Linked DNA regions of Homo sapiens: all the other regions are linked to region 7. Evidence: promoter capture Hi-C in 16 types of primary human blood cells and fetal thymus (Javierre and others, 2016). All regions are on one chromosome and are shown on one strand. The core of a region is centred on a gene start or on the middle of the fragment in contact, and the rest is flanking DNA. Distances in the headings are between cores, read along the strand shown.

Region 1 (2,700 bases), core at 169-2,668, 680 kb after region 7:
AAGTAAGGACAAAGGAACACTGATCTGTGCAGTAAAACTTTTATGGTAAGAATGTATTCATGTATTACCTTTGCAATTACAAAACATCCTCTGATCATGTAAACTGATGCTAAAGGCAGTAATGTTCTGGGCATCTATAGACTCCCAGAGTAATTCATTTGAACATGGTTTCTATGGTGGCTAAAATAATAATTTTAAATAAAATGTATGAACATTTTTATCAACAAATTTATAGTAATCTTTTAAATATATAAGGTATTAGCATTAATAATCTAATAGTAAAATCTGTTGGTTTATTTTTTGCTTAGTCCTTGAAAGTTGGTGTGGTTTGTTCTGAAAAAAAAAAAGAGAAGAAGATTAAAAATTATCTTAATGATCATAACTCTGGGTGGCCCCTGTTGGGGAGGCTCACCAGGCTGGGGTCTGGCTCTTGGCAAAGCCCCAGCAGCTCTGTGACCTTGGGTGAAGGTCACAGAAAATCCCCTCTGAGCTCTGACTTCTTCTCACATGTGAGACGAGGCAACTGGTGCTGAAATCAGGATGATGCCTGCCTGGATCTTGTGTGGTTCCACATTTTCCTGCTGCCTGGAACTTTCTCATTCCCAGGCTGATTCCTCTTGAAGTCCGATTGCTCACTAACCCCAGCACCAAGCTGGGAGAGGCACCTCATATTGCTTTTCCCCGCTAGCCCATTGCATTGTCCCAGAAATAGAAAGGATTCCCTTCCTTTTCTTCCAGCAGACCTTCCTAGATGATTTGTCTTTTCTCTTAAGGGACGTGCCCTAGATTGAGCAGAGTTGGGGGATCTTGAATCTGAGAAGTCTGATGATGGATTCCCCAGGAGGAAGAAAGGGGGAGGTGCAGTCTCTGACAGCCAGGGGTACTGGCCTCACATCCAGGCTGTGACTGCCATCTAGAGTGGAAAGGACGGTAGTGATAAAATATCAGGATGGTGGAGAGGCTGCATGAAAAAAGGGAGAAAACAGGGAAAATTGATTTTATCAGAAGGCAAAGGTGTTGCTGAATATCCAAAGATCAATTTCACCTCTTCTTTGAAATTCTCACTGTGGAACAGGGGAAAAATAGATTTCCAACTATTTGAGGCCATAAAATACATTCATTCACTGGGAGGTTAGCCCTTGGGTAGAATCAGAATACCCAGCAGTAGTCTTGCTTTACCGCAGACTGACCGAGGTGCCTAGAGAGGAATATGCCCTCTGTCCTCAGTTTCCCCCCATCTAAAATGAGGGATAACTGGCTTCATTCGGAGGCCTTCAATCTGTATCTTGCCATGAAGAACAGTAAGAAATACATTTTATATCACAACACAAAAGCCTCCTATAATGCAATTAAGGCAGAGGTTTTACAAAACAATACTTACAGTGTGCTCAGATCATTTCTGTTCTGTTTCAGTTTTTGGAATGCTGGCTGTGACCCACTTAAATGGATTTTCCAGCTCTCTAAGAGGCTGCAAAGCACATGGTGGAAAACACTGTGTTCAGTGCTCTCCCTGGTTGTTTCCAGTCCCCACATCTGATCATTCCTGGGGTCCTCTGTGTGTGTGTGGAAAGGAGAGTGTAGCTGAGAGCATAAGCCCAGCAGGGTTCGGGCGTGGTGTGGCCTTGCACACGTGGACGCATGGCAGCAGGCGACAGCCCATGGTGCAGCACAAGGGAACCCTCAGTAAGTCATGGCTGCAGACGACTGTCCTTTAATAATATGAGATGTACTGGTTGGAAGAAAAATGATCCAATAAATACAGAAATGAAAAGGATTATAAAATAGTGCTACGAACAATTGTATGCAAACCAATTGGATAACCTAGATGAAATGAAAAGATATTAGAAACAGCCTACCAAGACTGAATCATGAAGAAATAGAAAATCTTAATAGATCTATAGCTAGTAAGGAGATTGAACCAATGGTCTAAAATCTCCAACCTGGACCACATGGCTTCAGTGGTGAATTCTACCAAACATTTAAAGAATTGACATCAATCCTTCTTAAACTTCTAGAAATTTCAAGAGGTGGGAACACTTCCTAACTCATTATGAGATGAGGCCAGCATTCCTGATACCAAAGCCAGACAAAGACACAGCAGAAAAAGATAACCATAGACTAATATTTCTTATAAATATTGATGCAAAAGTCCTCAACAAAATACTAGCAAACTAAATTCAGCAGTATATTAAAAGGGTTATACTGGCTGCGCACAGTGACTCACACCTGTAATCCCAGCACTTTGGGAGGCTAAGGGAGGCAGATTACTTGAGGTCAGGAGTTCGAGACCAGCCTGGCCAACATGGTGAAACCTGTCACTACTAAAAATACGAAAATTAACCAGGCATGGGGGCACGCACCTGCAATCCCAACTACTCGGGAGGCTGAGGCAGGAGAATCACTTGACCCCGGGAGGCGGAGGTTGCAGTGACCTGAGATCGTGCCACTGTACTCCAGCCTGGAAGACAGAGCGAGACTCTGTCTCAAAAATAATAATAATACTAAATAAAAATTAAATTTAAAAAAGTAAAAGGATTATACATCATCAACAAGTGGGGGATTTATTCCCAGAAGGCAAGGATGGTTCCATACATGAAATTCAGTCAGTGTCATACACTACATTAACAGAATGAAGTTGGGGGTCCCAAACTTCATTCAGCAGGTCCCAAGTTCTTGTCCCACAATCATCTCAGTTGATGC
Region 2 (2,700 bases), core at 166-2,665, 560 kb before region 7:
CAAGGTCAGGAGTTCAAGACCAGCCTGGCCAAGATGATGAAATCCGGCCTCTACTAAAAATACAAAAATTAGCCACGCATGGCCAGGCGCGGTGGCTCACGCCTGTAATCCCAGCACTTTGAGAGGCCAAGGCGGGTGGATCACGAGGTCAGGAGATTGAGACCATCCTGGCTGACACAGTGAAACCCTGTCTCTACTAAAAATACAAAAAATTAGCCGGGCGTGGTGGCGGGTGCCTGTAGTCCCAGCCACTCTGGAGGCTGAGGCAGGAGAATGGCATGAACTCGGGAGGCGGAGCTTGCAGTGAGCCGAGATCGCACCACTGCACTCCAGCCTGGGTGACAGAGCGAGACTCCATCTCAAAAAAAAAAATTAAAAATTAAAAATTAGCTCAGTGTGCTGGTACAGGCCTGTAGTTCAAGCTACTCAGGAGGCTGAGGCAGGAGGATTGCCTGAGCCCAGAATTCAAGGCTGCAGTGACCTATGATCACACCATTGCACTCCAGCCTAGGTGACAGAACAAGACTCTGTCTTTCAAAATAAAAAAAAAGTTCAGTATAAATTTTTTTTTCATCAGTGTGGACAGAAACAAAGTTACAAAATGAAAAGTAAAAGTATCTTCATTTCTCATGTTCACATCTTAAAGGTAACTTTCTTTCTTTCTTTCTTTCTTTTTTTTTTTTTTTTTGAGACGGAGTCTCACTGTGTTGCCCAGGCTGGAGTGCAGTGGCCTGATCTCAGCTTACTGCAAGCTTTGCCTCGCAGATTTCAAGCTATTCTCCTGCCTCGGCCTCCCAAGTAGCTGGAATTACAGGTGCTCACCACCATGCCTGGCTAATTTTTTTGTATTTTTAGTAGAGACGGGGTTTCACTGTGTTAGCCAGGATGGTTTCGATCTCCTGACCTCGTGATCCACGCACCTCAGCCTCCCAAAGTGCTGGGATTACAGGCGTGAGCCACCGCGCCCGGACTTTTTTTTTTTTTTTTGACACAGTCTCACTCTGTCGCCCAGGCTGGAGTGCAGTGGCTGATCTCGGCTTACTGCAAGCTTTGCCTCCCAGATTTCAAGCTATTCTCCTGCCTTGGCCTCCCGAGTAGCTGGGATTACAGGCACCTGCCACCATGCCCGGCTAATTTTTGTATTTTTAGTGTTTCACTATGTTGACCAGGCTGGTCTCTAACTCCTGACCTCAGGTGATCCACCTGCCTTGGCCTCCCAAAGTGCTGTGATTATAGGCATGAGCCATGGTGCCTGGCCTTTAAAGGTAAATTTCTAGGTAGTTTTTTCTGTGTGTGTGTGTCCATACATTTTATATGTATTTGCAAGCATATAGAACTAATTTTTAGGCCAGGTGTGGTGGCTGATGCCTGTAATCCCAGCACTTTGGAAATCCAAGGCTGGTGAATTGCTTGAGGCCAGGAGTTTGAGACCAGCCTGGCCAACATGGTAAAACCCAGCCTCTACTGAAAATATAGAAAATTAGCCGGGTGTGGTAGCATGCGCTTGTAGTCCCAGCTACAAGGGAAGCTGAGGCCTGAGAACCACTTCAACCCGGGAAGCAGAGGTTGCAGTTAGCCGAGATGGTGCCACTGCACTCCAGCCTAGGTGACAGAGTAAGACTCTGTCTCAAAACAAACAAACAAAAAAAAAAAAACTTATTTTTACATGAACGAACGTGTACTTTATGCATCTTGATTTTTTCTTTTGTTTAACATATATTTTTGTATGTTAATAACATATAGTTCCCCCAAGGCATTAATAAACTCTATTGTATTCTCTTGTAAAGCTTTAATAGTTTTCTCACCAAGCGTCATTTAGACTAATTCTCATTTCTTTTTATTTCAGAAGCCACCGTGAGCTTTTTTTTTTGAGACAGGGTCTTGCTCTGTCACCCAGACTGGAGTGCAGTGGCACGATCATAGCTCACTGTAGCCTTGAATGCCCAGGCTCAAGCCTCAACTTTCCAAATAGCTGTGACTACAGGCCTGCGCCACCACAGCTGGCTAATTTTTAAATTTTTTGTAACGTTGGAGTTTCACTATACTGCTGAGGCTGGTCTTGAACTCCTGGCTTCAAGTGATCCTCCCATCTTGGCCTCCTAAAGTGCTGGGATTACAGGCATGAGCCCACGCACCCAGCCAATTATTCTTATTGGTACATGCATATATACACATGTGCCAGCTTCCATTCAGAGGATGGTTTCCTAGTAGAGAGATTGCCTGGTAAACATTAGTTTTTAGAAAATAATTTGTGTTTTGTGGCTAGGGCTTGGGCTCGCTACCCAGAGTTGTGCTGCATACGGTTCCCCACTAGGCGTCAGGAGAGCCCTATACATCTCTAGACAACGCCGTGCATTTCCAGAAAACCTTCAGATGTGTTCACAAGGCTGGTCTGGATTTTTCAAAAAATAATTTTTCTATTGTTCATAGTTCATCTCCACGAACAACCTAATGCTGTGTTTTCTATAAAGTGAAGCTGACATAATCTTTTCCAGTGGTGGTCTTGGTTTGTGCTACTGTTCCTGGCAATGGGCCTCAGGTAAAGGAATAGAAAAGACACAATGCCCAGTTGCTATTTTCCAGATGATAATGAGTAAAACCATGAATGATGTCACTGATGCCAGGGTGCTACCAATGCACGTTTCATGAATGACAACTGCAGAACATTTAGAAGATTCTTTATCACCCTTTTACTAGGTA
Region 3 (2,700 bases), core at 199-2,698, 580 kb before region 7:
TTTTTTAAATTGAATCACCTAGTTATATAGGATCCTTTTTTTATTTGTTTTTAGACAGGATTTCACTCAGGCTGGAGTGCAGTGGTACAATCATAGCTCACTGCAGCCTCAACTTCTCTGGGCACAAGAGATCCTCCCACCTCAGCTTCCTGAGTAGCTGGGACTAAGAATGCAAGCCACCACAGATGGCCAATTTTTTTACATTTCTTTGTAGAGATGGGGTCTCCCTACATTCCCCAGGCTGGTCTCGAACTCCTAGATTCAAGTGATCCTCCCACCTCAGCCTCCCAAAGTGCACAGATTACAGGTGTGAGCCACCACGGCCAGCCTACATAGGATTCTTAGTAACACTGTTAAAACACCACATCCCAAGGACTGTAACTGGTTTAGGAGCATGAGCGCTCTGGGATGTGCTTATTTCTAACTGCTTGCTTTGTCAGCAAGTCTGGAAGGCAAGAATGACAAACAAAAAGCAAAGGAGCCCCAGAGCAATCCCAGAGGGGCTGGAATCGGGGAGCAACTGTTCTTAAAGGCAGTCTCTGTCAGAGAGGAATGACTGGCACTGCTCCACCCCACAGACACCCGCTGGGGAGACAGCAGACTAATGCCAAAGAGCCAGAGGGTCAGGAGGAGCTGCAGCTATGGAGAAGCCACCTCGAGGACCTGCCATCCCAATCAGAAGGACGGCTGCAGCCCAGTCCACACGCAATGACCACTGCTTCTGAGCAGCTTCTGAGTGGGAGTCCCCACTACATCTGAGAATTACACATATAAGATCCTCACTTTCATAAGATAAACATGTTTCAAAAATCCAACTAGATAAAAGGACTCTGGAAGATGGTGGCATAAGGAAGCACCAGGAACCCATCTCCCTACGCACAGGACAATGGTACAGGCAGGATCTGTCCGATGTAAGCATTTTGGAATTCTGGAGTCCACTGAAGGTTTCCAACTTCCAGGGGAAACATAAACTGAAGTTAATCTCAGTCAACTTCAGCTCTTAGCACAGTAGCAGCTGCTCATTTGAGTAGATAACCATTTCTTACATCCTTACCTTCCTGCACAACCTTCAGAACGAATTCAAATTCTTTACACTACCTCAGTAAGTATTCATGTCGTCTTACTTTATCCATTTCATGGATGAAAACCCAAGTATTAAGAGGTTAAGGGGTTTCCCCAAGGCTACACAGCAGGCCTAATTCTGGTGTCTATCACTACACTGCATCAATTCTTTTTTTTTTTTTTTTTTTTTGAGATGGAGTCTCGCTCTGTCGCCCAGGCTGGAGTGCAGTGGTGCAATCTCGGCTCACTGCAAGCTCCGCCTCCCGGGTTCACGCCATTCTCCTGCCTCAGACTCCCAAATAGCTGGGACTACAGGCACGTGCCACCACACCCGGCTAATTTTTTGTATTTTTTAGTAGATTCGGGGGTTTCACCATGTTAGCCAGGATGGTCTCAATCTCCTGACCTCGTGATTCACCCGCCTCGGCCTCCCAAAGTGCTGGGATTACAGGCGTGACCCACTACGCCCGGCCACTGCATCAATTCTAAGACACACATTTTTCATATTTTAACATCAGAAATGGAGATCCATTTTACAATTGATGGCATGTCATAATTTCATCAGCATCTTATTAGATTTGTCTTAGCAACTTATAAAATACCATGTGTCTTACAATCAATAGCATCTTAAATATGCTGAAATATGGTCTTACTTATTTCCCATTGGTTGTGGTGAATATAGTCACACATGGGCAAGCCCAGCAGACAGTAACAAAGGCTGCTCCGCAGACAGAGAAATGGCAGGGACCACGCACCCACTTGGCCCTCCCTTAGAGCCCCATCTGCTCTGACAACACACGCTGATTAGCTGCCACGCCCACAGGTGACTAAATGTAGTAAAGACCCACAGAGGGCCCAAAGAGGCTGGCACACAACAGCACAAAGCAGGGGCAGACGCTGGCACATGATAGCACAGAGCAGGGGCAGAGGCTGGCACACGACAGCACAGAGCAGGGGCAGCTGAGGGCACGTGAGAAAAGGGCGCAAGCAGAGGACTGCCAAGACCATGGTCAGAAGCAGTGGTTCCAAAACCCAGTTCTGGGAGGTAGTGAAATAAAAGAATTTGTGGGTAAATTTGAGGACACCAGGTCAAAACACGGGTTCTCTAGTTGCAGTACTTCTCAGCATTAGAAAAATCTGAGTGAAAATAACAATTTTACAATGGACGAGCCAGGTTAACCTGCTGACTGTCACTTCTTTGGTCTAATCTGATGAATTTCACCTTTGAACCACAACAGCCACCAATCCCATAAAATACTTACTACTCCTTTTGAAAGATAGTTATTGACAAAGTCCTTCCAAGTGATTTCTCTCCCGGATCTCTTGAGCAGCAAGTAAAACATGACTCCACCCCAGAACAGAGCAGTCCAGAGGAAGAACATCCTGAAATCCTTGTCGTCCCATGGAATGTCACCCTGGGCAGAGAGGGAGACAGCTTCTGTGAAGAATGAAATTCCACAATACGATCTATGCTCTGTGAGACACAAATCCCTCCAACACTACACTAATGCCTCCCAACCTTCTCTGGGCCACCATCATAACCTCAAAATTCACACAATGTATAGCATCAAACCTTCTGAAACCTGGACCACCAGTGAGAATCATCTTTCTTGCCACCTCGTTTTCCACCGCCACCAC
Region 4 (2,700 bases), core at 73-2,572, 640 kb before region 7:
TAATGTGGCTCGCCCAGAGCACCAAGTCATGAACGCCATCACTGCCTTCGACCCAGGTGAGGGGCCTTGTCCTTGCCTGCCCCCTCCCTACAGGGCCACTGGGATGAGCCCACAGCTCCTAGATGGCACCTCAGCCCCCCGGACCTCAGGAGTCCCTGCCCAGACCTCCCCAAACCTACTCCTAGGGCCCCTTCTTCCCGCAGGGTGGCCTGGGATGGCTGTGAGTGGCTGAGGACTGAAGTGTCCACAGGCATGTACTGGAGACCCATCTCGGCGTGGGACAGAATTGGAGGTGGGGAGAAAGGCGGGTGTTGAAAGTGAGGACTGCAGGCTGAGACCAGCCCCCGCACTTCCACGCCCTGATGCAAATCAACGAGGAGCCCAAGAAGTCTACCGATTTCTTTTTTATTTTATTTTATTTTATTTTTATTGAGACGCGGTCTCACTCTGTCACCCTGGCTGGAGTGCAGTGACATGATCACAGCTCACAGCAACCTCCACCTCCCAGGTTCAAGCAATCAATCCTCCCACCTCAGACTCTGGAGTAGCTGGGTACAGGCATGTACCACCATGCCTGGCTAATTTTTTAACTTTTTGTAGAGACAAGGGTCTCACTATAATGCCCAGGCTGGTCTCGAGGTCCTGGGCTCAAGCAATCCTGCCATGTCAGCTTTGGAAGTTTTGGGATTACAGGCGTGAACCACTGTGCCCGGCCTAGCCTGAGAATTCTAAACTGGAACCTGGCTTTCCAGATACCATGGTGTATTTTTTAAGGTAGGAGAAGAGAATGTGTCCTCTACGCTTTTTTAAGTTTGGTTTGCGGCTTGTGTGCATTTGGACACACCGCGTCACAAACAGCCTCGCCCAGGAGGAGTGAGGGCCACAGATCGGGAGGGTAGGGGGCCCAGAGCCTGGAGAGCCCCAGGCCGGGCTCACAGGTCAGGGTTTCACCTGCCGGCTCCCAGAAGGGAGTGGCCAACAGACACCAGGGAAGTCAGGGTTGGGATTCAAAGAGAGGCCAAGGCTGCAGAGAGACTGGGAGCCACTTTAGGAAAGAAACGTGAATTCAGGCTTTGCACAGCAGAACTGTCCCCATGTCCTGGGGAGGCCTTGGTTCATTCTGCGGGGAAATCCCTTGTGTCTTGCGGGGCCCCGCCTCTGATGAGAGGGAAGGGAGATAAGCTTTGCAGGGGGAAGGTTTCCTCCCGGTCTCCTCACTCTTCGAGCACTGAGTTTCTCCAGACAAAGCGCACTCCGCGGGCACCAATCCCTGCAGACAGCGCAGAGCGCACAGCGAGCAGGAGCCCAGAAACCAGCAGGTCGGCTTGTCCCTTGTCAAATCCAAGTGACAACGGACTTCCGGAAGCCACGCTGACACCTACTTTCTGGCTCGATCAGACCCCTGGACTTAAATTCCAGCCCAAGGGCTAGCACTGAAAGGGTGGCTATTTCAGCAAACGACCAAAGCTTCTAAAGTAGACACTTTCTTTTAAACCACTTGATGGCTGGATTTCTTAGAGAGAGAGACTAAAGCTGGAGGAAGGGTTCTTCCAGGGATGGCACAGGCCCTCCGCTCTCGGGCTCCCCACACTAGACTTCGGGCCGGCAGGATGGGTTAAGGTAGCACTCGTTGGAGTCAATAATTAAGCAATGGAAACAAACAGCCTAAATAAGGGTGTTGAGGACTCAGGAGAAGGTGGCTGATTAATCTCAGGCTCATAGTTTGAAATGGGAGCGCAGGGGCTGGGCTGTGGCCTCCTCATCTGCTCCCTGGGCGTGTGGCTGTGTAAAGAGGTGTGGGGACCCACAAGAAGGCCGAGGAGCAGCACTGGGGTGGAGAGAGCAGTGGGGAGGCGGGGACCCAAGGGTTAAAAAAAAAAATTCCTCAATTTGGAAACATTTGCAAAACTCCAGAAGAAAAACTTTTAAAAGTTCTCCACTCCCTTCCAAACGTACAAACATGCACACACACAATTAGGAATTTCCCAAAGTTTTCATCTGTCTAAAAAGAAAGTGCCAGTGCAAATTACAGAACATCGTCGCTTCCTCATGTGCGGCGTTTCTACGGGCCTGGGAGGGGACGCAGAGGCTACCCCGGTGGTCCCAGCCTGCAGCGTTCACGTGAGGAAACTTCCGCAAAAGCCCTGATGCATGCACATTCTGACTGCAGAGGCCAGAGCATCCCGCATTTTGGAGGCTGAAAGGCTCCCCTAGGATAACCTTTTCCGTTAACAGAGGAGTCCGCTGAAGCGCAGAGCTAACTGAAAACAGCTAGAATTAAAATCCAAGTCACCCGGCCGGCATCAGCAGTCATTCCTTTCCACCACACAAAACTGGCCAGGAAGACGGACTCTGGCGCGCCCTCCCAGGCCGAAGCGCATTTCTTCGCTAACGCGCGAGGAGTAGGCTGCATAGACCCGGCGCAGGAGGTGTTCATTTTCGGATCCAGCCCTGTAGTCACTTTAGCTAAACCCGGTTCCAAAGGGGTGGGAGTCGTCGGAGAGGAATGGCCTCTGTATCTCCGGAGACGGAAACACCAGGACGAAGAGGCCCTAAGAACGTGTGCCCGGGGTGCGACCGGGGGGTGGGGGGCAGGGGGCAGAGACCCTGAAAAGCTCCACCGCCGAACCCCAGGGCAGTGTCCCGGCTTGGCTGGACTGGGCGCGGGCGGCTGCAATGCTCCCGGGCGCGGCGCTGGGA
Region 5 (2,700 bases), core at 40-2,539, 660 kb after region 7:
AATTTTTTTTTTTTTTTTTTTTTTTTTTTTTTTTTTTTTTTTGAGACGGAGTCTCACTCTGTCGCCCAGGCTGGAGTGAAGTGGCCCTATCTTGGCTCATGGCAACTTCTACCTCCCAGTTGCAAGCAATTCTCCTGCCTCAGCCTCCTGAGTAGCTGGGATCACAGGCGTGTGCCACCACACCTGGCTAATTTTTGTATTTTTAGTAGAGACGGGTTTCGCCATGTTGACCAGGCTGGTCTTGAACTCCTGACCTCAGGTGATCCGCCCACCTCGGCCTCCGAAAGTGCTAGGATTACAGGCTTGAGCCACCGTGCCTGCCCCACAAAGCCCTAATTTTAAGAAACAGACAGGTACAGTGGCCTACAGCGCTCCTCACTAAGGCCCTGGCTTGAGGGCAAGCCTATCATGTGACTGAGCCTGACCAGGAAGTGCTGGCCCAGGTGGCAAGGAGCCTCGGGGCTCCAGGGACAAGGGGCGCTGGTAGCCAGGGAGGGGCGGCTTGAAGTGGCTGCAGCTTCTAATTCTTTCTGAAGCTGCCTCTTTCTGAGGGTGACTCCCTCTTCATTCACCCAGCAGGGTGACTCTGAGAAGTCAGGGAAAGTCTGGCACAGGGAGGGGAGTTCCATTTTTAATTCGGAAATTGCTCAGGAAGAATCATACCATCCGGATTTCCCTCGCGGCTGTATATTAATAAATGGTCACTTTCCTTGCTGAAATTCTCTGGTTTCCTTTTATCCACGTGAAGCTTCTGGAAACTCTTCTGGGTGGTTCTTCTGTTGCTTTTCTGCCCCTGCCCCCAAAAATGAGAACATGAGAAAGTGATGTCTTCTAGCCACCTGGAGGACCCTGCGGTGACATCAGGGCCCAGTCCCTGCTGTCATGCCCCAGGTGACGTGCTGGGCTGACAGCAGGGCTGGCCGCTAACGTCACTGTCCTGGCTTCTAACGCTGGTAGTAACCAACAGAGTTTAGTTTTGCTTTGACAACTCCTCCTACAGCCAAAACTATTGTTATGGCCCACATGTCATTCCTATTTACCCTAAATAAGGAAAAACAAAGGCTATTCTGGGCTCCCGGCAGTGCTTGTGGTGGGGGTTATTTGCAGCGTTACCATGGCAGGCTGCCCTTTCCACCACGGCCACCCCGTGATTTTCTCTGAAAACTGCGACAGACTCGCAGCCTGCCCTGAATTTTCTTCACACAGCCTGGGGGCATCCGAATGCACGGGAGATGTTTTACACTCAGATGAAACAAACTGTTTAGACCTCGGGGAAAAGAGACTGTGCTTGAACAAAATGAACCAGGAGAAAGCGCCCTCCTGAGACATGTCTCTGCTTTCATGTTTGAATTGCCTGGGATTCTGTTCTCTAATTTCTGATCCTTATAAACTAAAACTGCCTAGGAACATTGAGCATCCTGACTTTGAAGGAGTCTCTGTGGTGTTTTTGTGCTACCATACATGGGGAATAATGATGTGAGGCAGAGGGAGAGGGAATGAATGGGAGAGCCAAGAGGGAAGAGCGAGCCGGGGGGAAAGGAGCGCGCAGTGTTTCCTGCTGCGGTTAGGACCTCACGCCTTGCCAGTACAGAGCTCGGTGGCAAGAGCCGCTGGGAGCTGCTCCCATCAGTTAGAGGATGTGGAGAGGGAGCACCAGAAGAGGACAGCCCGCAGCCTGGCTCGCAGCCTGAGGGACGCTGTGGGTGCTCCCAGCCGGGCGAGCACGCTCTGGGAGCGGATCTGCAGGGGAGAAGCACGCGAGCCTAACGTGAGCGTCCCGCCTGTCGCGTGTCCTGCCTTGGTAAGCGCCCTCTCCGGTCCTTCCACACTGAAAGCTTCCAGCAGAGATCAAGGGAAGGAGTATTGTGTGAGACTTGCAGATTTCCTCCTTTCTGTCTGGACTGGTTTGATATTTGCCTGTTGAAAAGATTACTGAACGCAGTGTGACAAGATGAGCCGTCTAGCTGCGTTCTGCTTGCCTGTGTGTGTGACACGTCCAGGTGTGAGGCCAAACCTGAGAAGTGCAGACTGCTCACTGATAGACGTTGCTGTAAACAGTAGTGCCCTGGGTGTACAGCTGGTCTCAGGATCGGAGACCCCGGACTTATTCTCTGCTCGGTGACACGGCCGGCTTCCTGCCGCAGAGCTCCTGGTTTCTGTTGATGGCAGTTGATAATTGGTAGCCACAGTCTGCGGTCGGAGCCACAGCATTTGAGTCTAGCACCTGGGGTGGGCCCTGCTGATACAGTAGAGAGAGAGTGAACGAGGCAGACAGAAACACACCCCCCCCCCCTCCACGCTCACACACTCTCCCACACCCCATGCCAGCTATAACTGCAGCTCTGAGCTGCCTGGAGAGGAGATTGCCGGAAGCTGAAGGGATGCTTTGAACGTGGGGGGGCTGCGTCACAGTTGGACTCCCACTTGCAGAGGACCTGATTATGTCCAGTGACCACCTGAACAACAGCACACTGAAGGAGGCTCAGTTCAAAGACCTGTTCTTAAAAAAAGGTACATTTCCCAAGAACTGCTATGGATGATGCATGCTCTTTCGGGTTTGCTGTGGTTCTTCTTGGAGTTTGGTCTGAGGACAGAGCTGAGAAGAGGAGAAGCTCTTTCTCAAGAAGTTTCTTTCTACCTAAGAGGGGTCTGTCAACTCAGAACATTTCCGGGTGGGACTCCCTTTAGGAAGATGCATGT
Region 6 (2,700 bases), core at 44-2,543, 530 kb before region 7:
CCATGTTGGCCAGGCTGGTCTCCAACTGCTGACCTCAAGTTATCAGCCCACCTGGGCCTCCCAAAGTGCTGGGTTTACAGGCGTGAGCCACTGCGCCTAGCCCTATTGTTTTTCGAAAATCCATCCATATGAGATGTCTATAGATGTCTACATAAATATATGTAGATATAGATAGATATTAATAGCTGTATGAATGTGCCACCATTTATTCTTTTTCTTATTGAAGGGCATTAAGTTTTCCTCTTATTACAAATCGAACTGCAGTGACCAGCCCTGTGTCTATTTCCCACTCAATCAAGGGCCCACTTAGGCCAATGGATTTCAAGCTCTTCAGCCTCAGGACCTCTTGATTTAGCAAAACCCTAAACAGTTTTGCTTATGTGGGTTATGTCTGTCAATATTTACCATATTAGAAATTAAAAATGATAAATTGAAAAAGTTAATTCATTAAATTTAACAATAATAAACCTGTTATAATGTTTCTGAATAAAAAACTGTATTTTCCAAAAATTAGTGAAAGGAGTGGTGCTGTTTCTGTTTTTACTAATATCTACAATATCTGGCTTAATAGGAGATAACTTGATTCTCATATCTGCTTCTGCAGTCTGTGTTTGGCAATATATAGTTTTGGTTGAAGTGTATGGATAAACCCCAGCCTCACACAAACATGCAGCTGGAAAAGGTGGGAGCATCTTAGTAGTCTTTTTAAGTAATTATGGCTATTCTTTCCTGTTATGACAAAAGAAACGGTAGCTTCTTAACACTTAGTTGGAATACAAAACCTGAAACTATAATGAATAGAGTATTGAACTCTGAGGCCTAGCGGGGGTAATCGGTTGAGCTCAGGAGTTTGAGACCAGCCTGGGCAACATAGTAGAATATGTCTCTACAAAAAATAAATACAAAAATTAGCCAGGTGTGGTGGCTTGTGCCTGTAGTCCTAGCTGTTCAGGAGGCTGAGGCAGGAGGATTGCTTGACCCCAGGAGCTTGAGGCTACAGTGACAGAGCCATACCATCTCTTAAAACAGCCACCACAACAACAAACCCATTGGCCTGTCCTGTGTATGAATGAGTCTTTAACCCAAGTATGACTTGGAAGCATTTGGAATATAGGCCTCCACTGAGCGTGCAGCATGAGGCAGTCATCCAGCTCCTGGTAGCAGATACAAGTTTTCTGAAATTTCAATTATCACTTTATTTATTTATTTTTTTTCCAAGACAGAGTCTCACTCTGTCGCCCAGGCTGGAGTGCAGTGGCATGATCTCAGTTAACTGCAACCTCTGCCTCCCAGATTCAAGCAATTCTCCTGCCTCAGCCTCCCAAATAGCTGGGATTGCAGGTGAGTCTCACCACGGCCTACTAATTTTTGTATTTTTAGTAGAGACGGGGTTTCGCCATGTTGGCCAGGCTGGTCTTGAACTCCTAACCTCAGGTGATCCGCCTGCCTTGGCCTCCCAAAGTGCTGGGATTACAGGCGTGAGCCACCGTGCCTGGCCAAATTATCACTTTAAAGCTCAAATTTTATCTTTGGCAGCAAATGCTATCAGTTGTTTTCCTTGAAGCACAGGCTTACTTTGTTAATTTTCAAGAAATCATCTGCCAGATCCCCAAGTCTGAATAAGCAAAGTTTATCTGTTTATTGTTCTTTCTGTTTATTGCTCTTTCAAGTACAAGAGGCAGGCAGTGGAAAGCAGCAGAGAGACAGGGGCTCCCACTCAGAGTGAACAAGTGCCGGCGCCCCCCAGACACCCCAGAGTCGAGGGACTTGGGCCGCAGCAGCAGAGGGGCTTCTGGTGCACTTCTGTTCCCTCACACAGAATATCAAAGAGAAGAGTACTCAGGGGTCAAGCAGTCATAAAACTAATCACTTGGCCATTTACTCACAGATGTCCCTAAGAGAAACTGGCATTGTTTCCCAAGTGCACAGCAGTGAGGACTGCGGTGACCACATGCAATTTGGAGCCCTGCCTTGATGCTGGGAAGATACTGGCTCTGTCCTTTTATTGCTTTTGCAGAATTAGCGCAAATGTCAATACAGCAAAAAAGGCCAGTCATTGGCCGGGCGCCATGGCTCATGCCTGTAATCCCAGCACTTTGGGAGGCCGAGGTGGGTGGATCACCTGAGGTCAGGAGTTTGAGACCAGCCTAGTCAACATGGTGAACCCCCATCTCTACTAAAAATACAAAAATTAGCTGGGTGTGGTGGCTCATGCCTGTAGTCCTAGCTACTCGGGAAGCTGAGGCACGAGAATTGCTTGAACCCGGGAGGTGGAGGTTGCAGTGAGTTGAGATCACACCCACTGCATCCCAGTCTCACTCTGCAACAGAGTGAGACTTGGTCCTCCCCCCACCCCTCCACCCCCACCAAAAGAAAAGGTCAGTCATGTCTCAGTAGCACTGTGACAACAGTTATGTCTGGAAAAGTTCTTGGAGCCACCAGGGTGTGTGGCCCAAATGCTAAGGAGCAGCTGATGGAGGCCTTGGGTCACTTGGTGGTGGGGTATAGCAGGCCTACTATCTTGTTTTTGGCTGCCTACATCTTTTTTTCTTTCTTTTTTTTAGAGACGGTCTTGCTCTGTTGCCCAGGCTGGAGTGCAGTAGTGCAATCACGACTTACTGCAGCCTCAAACTGTTTGGCTTAAGTGATCCTCCCATCTCAGGCTCTGCAGTAGCTGGGACTATGGTTGCGAGCTACCAC
Region 7 (2,700 bases), core at 102-2,601:
GAAATGAGTGTCTTTGACCTTCAAAAAAGTTATAGTTGTTATCAGTTATCATAAGAGGTGGGGCCCACCTCTTAAAGTAGCAATAAAATCTTATTTATGGTTGAAAAAGGTCAGGTCATTGCGCCACTTCTCTTTGCAGGTTTCTGTGCAATCCATCAGGGGACAGCTGGGACTAATCATTTAAAAAACTTTCCAGCCTGCTAATTTTACCATACCTCACATTTTTGTCATTCCTGGCCAAAATCCAAAGGGCAAGTCCCTTCTGCAGCCTCATTTTTTTTTTTTCTGTACTTTCGCTCCCCTGACGCAAGCTTCCACTGTCTCCCATCCTAACTTTACCACTACGCCCTCTAGAATGCCTTTTCCTGATAAGCAAAACCCCCCGAGTCGTTGGCTCCTCCACTTTCCGGTTTTGGCAGAATCCTTGATCTGAGCCAGGCCTCTTCCCAGGGGCTCTGGCCCTCTTCACTTCCTTTTCCCCGGAGGACTCTGGCTCCCGGGTAGCAAGCAGCCCACTTCCCCGGCCGCTTCCTTCCCCCGGGATGACACGTTTCTACAGGCGGACTCTTCTAATTCATACTATTTCCCTACCCCCGTGGTGGCTCCTAGCACCCCCAGGCCTGTTCTACCTGTAAAATCTTGACACATTTAAACTACTACTTCTGATCCTTTCCTCCCCGTCCAGCCTTCGCTCTTAGGCTGCCGAGCCTGGACTGCTTGTCATCCCCTCAGGCGTCTCCCCGGCCCTCCCTGCTCTTCAGCCGTCCCGACGGAGCGCGGCTCCTGACCAAACCCACGGTTCGTCTTCTCCACCTGCTCCGCGCGCCTCGCATGTGTCTGGGGGGAAACACATCCAAACGTCGACTTAAATGATTCAGGGCCGAGGACCGTGAGAGGCAGTCTTCACTTTTTCATCTTTCTTCATTTGCACAGTATACCAATAAGCTCTTACTACTTCTCAGCACAGGTAACTCGCCTTTTGCAGAGCACCCTCCGCCGCCGAACGGTCAGAGCCTGGAGGAACCCGCACCAGGATCGTAGGGCATGACGGGCCGGGGGCGGGACGAGGATTGACGAGCCGGGAACAGGGCGGGGCTTGAGGGGGCGGGAGGGTGGGGCGAGGCATGACGGCTCTGGTGGGAGGGTAGGCGGGGCTTGACGGGCCTGGGGGCGGGGCGGGGCTTGAGGGACCGGAAGGTGGGGCGAGTCATGACGGGCCGGGGCGTGGGCAGGGCTTGAGGGGCCAGGGGACTGTGTGGGGCCTGACGGGCCGGTGGGTGGGGCGGGGCTTGAAGGACCGGAGGGTGTGTGGGCGGGGCTTGATAGGCAGGGGCGGTGCGGGGGCGTGGGCAGCACAAGCCGTGCGCTCCCGGGCTGCGAGGTCTGGCTAGGCTACGGGCCACGCGCCGCCGCCGCTGCCGCCGCCACTGTCCTCTTCGGAGGCGCGGGCCCGACGGAAACCATGTTTGTGGCTCGCAGCATCGCGGCGGACCACAAGGATCTCATCCACGATGTCTCTTTCGACTTCCACGGGCGGCGGATGGCAACCTGCTCCAGCGATCAGAGCGTTAAGGTGCGCGCGGCGCTTGCGGGCGGGGCCGACCCCGGAAGGAAGGAAGGGGAGTGGGTGGGCGGCGCGGGGAACGGGGCTGTGTCTTGGTTCAGTGACGCCGCTGGAAGCTGTGGGGTGGCGGGCGAGCCCTGGCTGGACTGAGCGGAAGCCCTCCCCGCCCGCGTATTGTGGGGTCACGGCGGCCTCGCGGGCCGCCCTCCCGTGCGCCTGCGCAGCTGGTGCCACGTGCGCGCTCCCGCCCGCAGGGTACGCCGGGCCCTCTCCCAGGCCGCGCTGCCGGGGCTGCGGGCGGGAACCCAGGGGCATCCCACCGTCAGCCTCGGCGTCGTGGGTCTTGCCCGCGCTGTTCACCCGACGACCTGCAGTGGGACCTGGTGGGAGACTTTGCCTGGCTGGCGCTGCGTCGAGTTCTGTGCCCCGCCGGTGTTCTCTCACCAGGGCACATGGTTTTCTCCGTGGGTTCAGAGCAGAAGCTCACTTTGTTACGCCGAGGAAGAAAAATACAAACCATTTACATCCAATGATTTCCCTGCTTGCTGCCCAGGAATCGGAGGGTTTGTTTCTTGAAGTTCCCGTAAACGTCTGTAGACACTTCCGACAAGCAGAATTTCTTTTCTTTTTTTTTTTTTTTTTTTGAGACCGAGTCTCACTCTGTCACCCAGGCTGGAGTGCAATGGCACGATCTCGGCTCACTGCAACGTCCGCCTCCCGCTTTCAGGCGATTATCCTGCCCCAGCCTCCCAAGTAGCAGGGATTACAGGTGCACGCCACCACCCCCGGCTAATCTTTTTTTTTTTTTGTATTTTTTAGTAGAGACAGAGTTTCACCATGTGGGCCAGGCTGGTCTCGAACTCCTGACCTCGTGATCCACCCGCCTCGGCGCCTCGGCCTCCCAAAGTGCTGGGATTACAGGCGTGAGCCACCGCGCCCGGCCTACAAGCAGAATTTCTAATGTGGGGATGCTACATGAGATTTAGGAACCTCCCAGATGTGTTGCAGGATGAATGAAAGCTGGAGTGCGGATTATTTGGTTCTCGACAACTCCAGAGTAACTGGAAATCTGAAGGATAGTTTATCCTTTTTCACATTCGAGTTTGATACCAGTGATCTCTCAAAGATAAACTTTT

Evidence for each region. The method cuts DNA at HindIII sites, captures the fragments that hold promoters and counts their contacts. A CHiCAGO score of 5 or more calls a contact.
Region 1: a fragment that was not itself captured here is called in contact with the fragment with the promoter of SEH1L in region 7 in 1 of 17 cell types (fetal thymus); the score reaches 5.0 in fetal thymus.
Region 2: a contact is called between a fragment that was not itself captured here and the fragment with the promoter of SEH1L in region 7, in 13 of 17 cell types (fetal thymus, total CD8 T cells, monocytes and 10 more). The highest score is 14.6, in fetal thymus.
Region 3: a fragment that was not itself captured here is called in contact with the fragment with the promoter of SEH1L in region 7 in 15 of 17 cell types (naive CD8 T cells, non-activated CD4 T cells, monocytes and 12 more); the score reaches 14.6 in naive CD8 T cells.
Region 4: a contact is called between a fragment that was not itself captured here and the fragment with the promoter of SEH1L in region 7, in 3 of 17 cell types (monocytes, erythroblasts and naive B cells). The highest score is 8.2, in monocytes.
Region 5: a contact is called between a fragment that was not itself captured here and the fragment with the promoter of SEH1L in region 7, in 1 of 17 cell types (fetal thymus). The highest score is 7.6, in fetal thymus.
Region 6: a contact is called between a fragment that was not itself captured here and the fragment with the promoter of SEH1L in region 7, in 11 of 17 cell types (monocytes, total CD4 T cells, naive B cells and 8 more). The highest score is 8.5, in monocytes.

The regions. Positions count from the first base shown.
Region 1 is chr18:13,629,442-13,632,141 of GRCh38, forward strand. All of the region lies in intron 5 of LDLRAD4 (low density lipoprotein receptor class A domain containing 4), which reads left to right. Among named protein-coding and RNA genes, the nearest start is that of MIR4526, 20 kb to the left of the region's middle. The HindIII fragment of the contact is 3,355 bases long and covers 1-2,700 here.
Region 2 is chr18:12,389,531-12,392,230 of GRCh38, forward strand. No RefSeq gene overlaps it. Among named protein-coding and RNA genes, the nearest start is that of AFG3L2, 14 kb to the left of the region's middle. The HindIII fragment of the contact is 739 bases long and covers 1,047-1,785 here.
Region 3 is chr18:12,364,641-12,367,340 of GRCh38, forward strand. It overlaps AFG3L2 (AFG3 like matrix AAA peptidase subunit 2), which reads right to left. Exons shown (of 17, transcript NM_006796.3): 4 at 2,636-2,700; 5 at 2,325-2,477. Among named protein-coding and RNA genes, the nearest start is that of AFG3L2, 11 kb to the right of the region's middle. The HindIII fragment of the contact is 2,906 bases long and covers 1-2,700 here.
Region 4 is chr18:12,305,210-12,307,909 of GRCh38, forward strand. It overlaps a transcript of TUBB6 not described here. Among named protein-coding and RNA genes, the nearest start is that of TUBB6, 1.7 kb to the right of the region's middle. RefSeq lists a silencer at 2,518-2,700. The HindIII fragment of the contact is 285 bases long and covers 1,181-1,465 here.
Region 5 is chr18:13,610,264-13,612,963 of GRCh38, forward strand. The region is part of intron 4 of LDLRAD4 (low density lipoprotein receptor class A domain containing 4); the gene reads left to right. MIR4526 (microRNA 4526) reads left to right here and starts at 851; the gene lies at 851-937. RefSeq lists an enhancer at 2,361-2,590. The HindIII fragment of the contact is 1,087 bases long and covers 747-1,833 here.
Region 6 is chr18:12,412,386-12,415,085 of GRCh38, forward strand. All of the region lies in intron 1 of PRELID3A (PRELI domain containing 3A), which reads left to right. Among named protein-coding and RNA genes, the nearest start is that of PRELID3A, 5.8 kb to the left of the region's middle. The HindIII fragment of the contact is 7,678 bases long and covers 1-2,700 here.
Region 7 is chr18:12,946,660-12,949,359 of GRCh38, forward strand. SEH1L (SEH1 like nucleoporin) reads left to right here and starts at 1,352. Exons shown (of 9, transcript NM_001013437.2): 1 at 1,352-1,573. The coding sequence starts at 1,463. RefSeq lists silencers at 1,050-1,499, 1,540-1,889, 1,900-1,999 and an enhancer at 1,931-2,532. The HindIII fragment of the contact is 15,085 bases long and covers 310-2,700 here.